2 separate regions of the Homo sapiens genome follow, and region 1 is linked to region 2. The links are contacts of gene promoters, found by promoter capture Hi-C in human tissues and cell types (Jung and others, 2019). All regions are on one chromosome and are shown on one strand. The core of a region is centred on a gene start or on the middle of the fragment in contact, and the rest is flanking DNA. Distances in the headings are between cores, read along the strand shown.

Region 1 (3,226 bases), core at 473-2,972, 51 kb after region 2:
TAACCCTTTATTGCACTACAGTATTAAAATGTCTGGCATCTGGTCCAAGCTGCACAGGATCAAATCTTGGTTTGACCATTTATTAGCTCTCTGATTTAGATACTTCTTATATCTCATTGTTTTCTTGTTGAAATAGGGGTTATCATAGCACCTATCTCTTAGGCATGTGGGAGATTGACTTGTTGGCAAATGCTGACCACTAAGGTCTTGGCAAAGGTTCGCTGCCTCCTCACCATCTCCAGCAGACAATTGGGGCACATCTCCCTAGACCCTGCGCCTCCCCCTCACAGATGGTCATTACGCTGGTGTGACCCTTGATTCCAAAAGCTGACCCACCCTTGCAGGTGGTACCTGAGATCACTGGAACCCCACAGGGCCACCTGCTCCATGAGCATGCCTGTGTGTACAGTCCTGCGGACACACAGTGTTTTCCATATCTCAATTTACTTCTTATTTTGCTGCTCCACAGAAAATTTGGAAAACAGAGAAAAAGGGTCAAAGTCACCCAGCCCCAGTGCCAACTATCCTGGTGGCATCTGGCTCCGTTTTTTCCAAGGCAGTTTCCCATGGCTTTGACCCTGGGTCAGTGCCGTGCTCATTGTTGCCCCTTGCATGCTCATTGACTTAACCAGGGCAGGTGACTTTGGCACAGCAGGCAGTGGAGCCGGCCAGGTGGATGGAGACAGCCTTGCTGTGCCCTTTGGGTGGGACCTGGTCAGGAATCCCACATGGACAAGAGGATTGTCCATGGTGTGCTCTGACTGGCCTATGACTCAGAGACTTCCCAAAGGTCACCTTTAGTGACTCTGTGTGCTGGCTGCTTTCCCGGTGGGTCATTCTGGCCAACATCGACCCCTTTTGACACCTGGGCAGAGCCACCTGGAAGCCAGCTCCTGAGGAGGGGTAGCCTGAGATGTGGGTATGATGTTGAGTGTGGAGTTGGAAGACCTGGGTCCTAGCTCTGCCTTGTCTCGCCGAGGGGCTGGGAGTACCCTCACCTCTCTGACCTCAGTCTATGGATCTCTGAAATGGGTTCAGTCACCTGCCCACCCGCCAGGTAGGCTGTTCTTAAGGTACAAGGACCTGAGCTGCAGAGAGTGGCTGGTTGTGTGCCCTCTGTGCTGCTGTGCACATTCTGAGATGTGGTTCCATGACCTGTCTAGGCCCTGAGGGGAGGAATGAGGAGGGGATGGGGCTGGGGAACCAGTGGCCTCTGAGGTGAGTTCCTGATCTGGGCTGCCACCCGGCAGAAGGGTGTGTCCACCAGGCCCATGCAGATGCCTTAAAGGCAGGGAGTTGTTTGTGCACCTTGCACCCTCATCATCAAGCAGCCATTCATTCACTTGGCACACAGTGATTAAGCACCTACTGTGTACCCGTGAGCCATGTGGGCACACCCCTCCTCCACACAGCTGTGAAGAATCAGAGAATCAGATAAACCAGGACTTGTCCAAATAACAATAATTGGTCGGTATCCTGTAGAACAGGGGACCCTAATCCATTTGGAGGGCTCATGGCTGTGCCTTTGAAATTTGGCAATGACAGAAGCCACTGGGCAGGTTCCGGGAGGCAGGTTTGTTCCTCGGGTCAGGGCGACTGGAGGAACTGGAGTAGGTGCCTCATCCCTGCCTCCTTCCCACAGATTCATCCCCCGTCTCCTGGTGGGAGACAACGTGCTCCTTCTGGACTTCAAAGCCAGCCCCACTACCCTCGGAGTCTGTGTGCTGGGCGTGGACAAGTCTCTGCTTTGTACCCACTCTGTGGCCGTGAACCTGTGACCTATACTTCTCAGCCTTGCTTTTCTTATCTGTAAAATGGGAATAGTCACTGGATTTATCTTAAAGCTGAGGTCACTGGTGTCTGGGCTTGAAAGAGAACCGGCTCATAGGGACCCTCACTCACGAGCCCCTGCTGTGCAGGTGACCGCCATCAGTGACCGCCGTCTGTGGCCAAGTGAGTAGCAGCAGCAGCAGCTCCGACCATCATGGCATTGGAGTGCAGTGGACACAGCGTGGTGATCACCCTTTGTGGCACACGCCAGCTCGGCGCAATCTCCGGGCGGGCAGCGGTGGGCAGCACAGCTCTCCTGAGGCGTGGAAAGACGTGCTTGTCCTCGGGATCACAACGGATCCCATATATCCATGAGACAAGAGGTGCTTCTCGTGGCCGAGACCTCTCTCTTTGCAGTGCCTCAGATTTCCACCGCTTTGTCAAGTTGGAATATGGGGGAGGGCACGTGGTTGCTGTGGAGAAGGAACAGTTGAGGGAAATGAATGCATGTCATCTGCAGGAGCTCCTCATGGCCTAATTGGAAGATTAATTTTCCATCTTGGGAGGAATTTTTGGGCACTGCTAATTGTCTTAAACCATCACTGTCGTGTCTGTCTCTTTGATGGCTCGGGGGAGGTCGGTGTGGGGGCTTTATGTTGTTTACTGATGCATCCTCGGGGCCCGTGGCAGGCCCTGCCACATTGCAGGTGCCCAATATTGGTTGAATGCACCACTGAACAAAGCTTTGAGCACATACCTTTATTTACACATAGGGTTTTCCCCATATGACAGTCACTAAAATAAAGATCTGAAGTGTGTGTGTGTGTGTGTGTGTGTGTGTGTGTGTATTAATTGAGACTTGATACCTCTCTGTGGTCTGGTGACTGAGGACAAACACATCTGACCATGGTGTGAAGCTCCTGACTGAGCATGCAGATAAAGGCTTGAAGACAAAATGACAGCAGTGGGAAGAGAATTACTGTCTGAGCCATACCCATGGTATTGGTTAACATGTGGCTGCCGCTGAGGAAGACGGCCTGGCAAGTCCTAAAAAAAGTTAAATGTAGAGTGAAGTTAAATGTAGAGTTATGTTAAATGTAGAGTGAAGTCAAATGTAGAGTGAAGTCAAATGTAGAGTGAAGTCAAATGTAGAGTGAAGTTAAACGTGGAGTTAGCACATGAGCCAGCAGTTCCACTCCTGGGTGTGTCCCCAAGAGAAATGGAATCATAGGTACGAGTGAAAATGTTTACATACATGCTCATGGCAGCGTTATTTATAATAGCCCAAAACTGGAATCAGTCAGATGTCTGTCAGCTGAGTAATAAATAAACAGTGTGGTGTACCCATGTGATGGGATGTGACTTGGCCTGAAAAGGAATGGATTACGGATGAGGACTACTGCATAGATACACCTTGAGGACATTACGTGTGGTGAAAGGAGCCAGACACAGAGGC
Region 2 (2,940 bases), core at 71-2,570:
TTATTTTTTGATTGATTGACTCCTTTATTCATTCAACAAATATTTTATCAAGTGTATGCTTAAGGAAGCAGCGACGAGAAAGACATTTACATAAGGCAGCTGCCCTCAAGGAGTTACAATATTTATTCCATGTGTGTCCTGAAATATTCAGGCCCCAAACACAACTTTTTTTTTTTTAACCTAAGTGCTTTTAAAGACTTCTTTGAAATGTGGGACAATTATGCAAGCTGAAAAAAAAAAGTATCTAGAGCAAATATTTAACTTTGCCTTTGGTATGTTGAAGTCACCAGCCCATGCAAACCTCTCAGGCATGTCCTGTAAGATAGACTGACTTACACACACACACACACACACACTCACTCTATGTAGGGGGCACAGTTAGGGGTTTGCATAATGCCGGGCTCCAGGGTTCTGGAGACAGTTCTACTCCACAGCTTGGACTCTGATCCCCACCCACACCTTCCAGAATACTGGAAAACTCAGAACACAGAGACCTCAAGAGCTTACTCAGAAACACGCAGCTCGTACTGGGGGAGACTCCCAGTGAATGATTAAGGCCTTGAGAAAATCTATCAGCCGATGGCTCACACGGCGGCCACAGCTCCAAGCTCAGGACCCGCCCCTTTGGGCTTCCGCAAACCTAGCAATCCGGAGTCCTGGATAATAACAGGATTCCTGGAGTCTCCGGAGGGTGCCTTTGGCCTCTGGGATTCACCCGAGCCGTTGGCTTTTGCTCCCCCCACCCCACCCCCTGGCTTTTCTTGGCTTGGAGGGCAGCTGGCGGAGATACCGTTGTGCACCCCTGGGCGGAAGGCGCCCCAGAACTGGTGGCCTGGGCAGCAGACGCCGGCGTATCACCCGGGTACAAAGTTTTCGTTTGCTCTGCAAACGTTTTGATGTGCAGGCAGCCTCTATTTCCAAATCCTATTATTATAAATACTCTGTGGCGGGAGCCAGCTGCGTTCGGGATAACCGTGCAGACCGAACCGGACTTTACAAAAATCAGGGACTTTCTCGTCCGCCGGCTTTGGCCAGGGAGGGGGAGGTCCGTGAGCCACGCAGCCCGGGGCGGGGCAGAGGCGGCCAGGGCGCCCCGCGGTCTCCCGGGGTTGCCACAACAGACCCCACGCGCACGCCCGAGCCGCAGCCGCGGGCGGGAGCGGGGTCGGGGCGGGGGACTGAGGTCCGCGGCGTGGGCGGGGGTGGGGGTCCAGGTCGGGTCGCCCGCGGGTCCTGGGCCGCACGCGTCCTTTCGGCGGCGAGAGGGCCCCTCCCCCACCCTCGCCGGAGCCAGCTCCCGCGCCGGGCGGGGCCGGGTCCTTCCCCACCCCCTGCACCTGAGCCGCGGCGGCGGCTCCTGAGCTCCGGCGGGGCTGGGCGCGGCGCCGCTCGGGTTCCCGCGGCCGATCCAGGTGTGCGCGGACGCTGGCGCTCCCGGGGGGCTCGGACCCGCCCCCGACTCGCCGAGCCAGGTGAGGCGGCGGCCGGGGACGCAGGGCGCGGGCCGGGGAGGACGGGAGGTGGCCCTTGGGCACCCGATCCTGCTCACTGACGGCATTTTGGGGGCATCTCGATTCCGGGAGCACCAACTACCGGGTAAGCGCAGTCCTGGACCCAGAGAGGCTGGAGAGGTGGGCGCTGGGGGGAGTGAGCCGCGTGTCCAGGTGGGGGTCGATTTTCCGTAGAGAGCCCTTCCCCCTGCATGCCTTTCTTCCCGGGCAGGGGCCGGTGTCGAAAGCTTTGGAAGCGGCGTGGGGGCAGAGCGCAGGAAGGAGCCCCCGCTTTATCTCCTGCGCGCATGGACCACGTAGTCTCTGGCGCGTCCTGCCCCTTCCTCTGGAACAGCGCGTGTGGCGCGACCTCCCCCGCTCTCCCGGGGTCTCCTTGCCCCGGGTCACCGCCCGCCAGCCCTAGGACCCGGGCCAGCGAGCCCAGCGGAGGAGCCGGCGCGGGGCCGCCAGGTGGCGCGCGGGGGCGGAGACCCGAACCGTGGCCGCCAGGTCCCCCGAGACCCCGCTGCGGTCACCCTGGCCCTGCACGCAGAGCTCCCATCCAGGCGCGCGCGGCGGCAGCAGCAGCTGTCGCGGAGAGGCCGGGGCCGGCGCGCCTGGTGCGGGCCCGGGGGTGGCGGGTCGGGCGCCCAGGTCCCGGGGGTCGCGCTGAGCCACAGCCGGGTGCCCGACCCCGGCCCGCCGTGCTCACCAGCTGGGATAGGGAGACCCGGCGGGCGCAGCCCGGCCGCCACCGTCCGTGAATTATGCAGGAAGCTGGCACCGGCGCGCTCGAGTTGATCAAGTTTCCCTGGCAACTTTCGCCCGGGCATCCCTCCTCCCCGGCGGCCGGGCAGCTCCGCCCGCCCAGCCCGCGGCCCAGGCGCCTCCACCGGGTGGCCCCGGCCCCGGGCGCCAGGCGCGGGGACCGCTCCCAGAGACGCCGACAGCGCACTCGTCACTTGGGCTGGAGCCGCCGGACTGAGCCAGCAGGTGCGACCACCGCAGCGGGCCTCGCCGCCCGGGTTCGGGGGGATGCGGGGGCTGGGGTGGACCTCGCCGCCAGGGTTCTGGGGCTTGGCGTGGGGGTGCAGCGCGGCGCCCTCCAGGCGGGTCTGCGTGCGGACACCCTGCTCGAGGTGGGTGGGCGCGTGGGCGAGGCTTGCCTTTCCGTGGGGCTGGAGCACCCAGAGGGAGAAAGGGTGGTGCAGGTGACCGTGGGTTTTCGCAGCCGATCTTTTAAAGGGGCTCGGGGCGCCTGGAACTGAGAAGGCGCTCGAGCCAGGCAGGTGAGGGGTGGGTGGTGGGGGGGTCAGGCGAAAGTACGTAAGGCTCTCGGGGGCTGGCAGCTGCTGGCAGGGGCCTGGGCGTCCTCAGAGGCCATCCGAAAATAAAGTGGTTTTCGGGTGGAAATTCGAGGTTGTAAATTGGATAGTTGAGTGACCTCTTT

The links. The method cuts DNA at HindIII sites, captures the fragments that hold promoters and counts their contacts. A contact is called where the count stands out against the background at its distance.
Region 1: a fragment that was not itself captured here is called in contact with the fragment with the promoter of SHANK2 in region 2 in 2 of the 25 tissues and cell types used here (liver and stomach).

What each region holds. Positions count from the first base shown.
Region 1 is chr11:71,200,223-71,203,448 of GRCh38, reverse strand. All of the region lies in intron 2 of SHANK2 (SH3 and multiple ankyrin repeat domains 2), which reads left to right. Among named protein-coding and RNA genes, the nearest start is that of SHANK2, 51 kb to the left of the region's middle. The HindIII fragment of the contact is 5,516 bases long and covers 1-3,226 here.
Region 2 is chr11:71,250,957-71,253,896 of GRCh38, reverse strand. It overlaps SHANK2 (SH3 and multiple ankyrin repeat domains 2), which reads left to right and starts at 1,320. Exons shown (of 26, transcript NM_012309.5): 1 at 1,320-1,472. The HindIII fragment of the contact is 4,011 bases long and covers 1-2,365 here.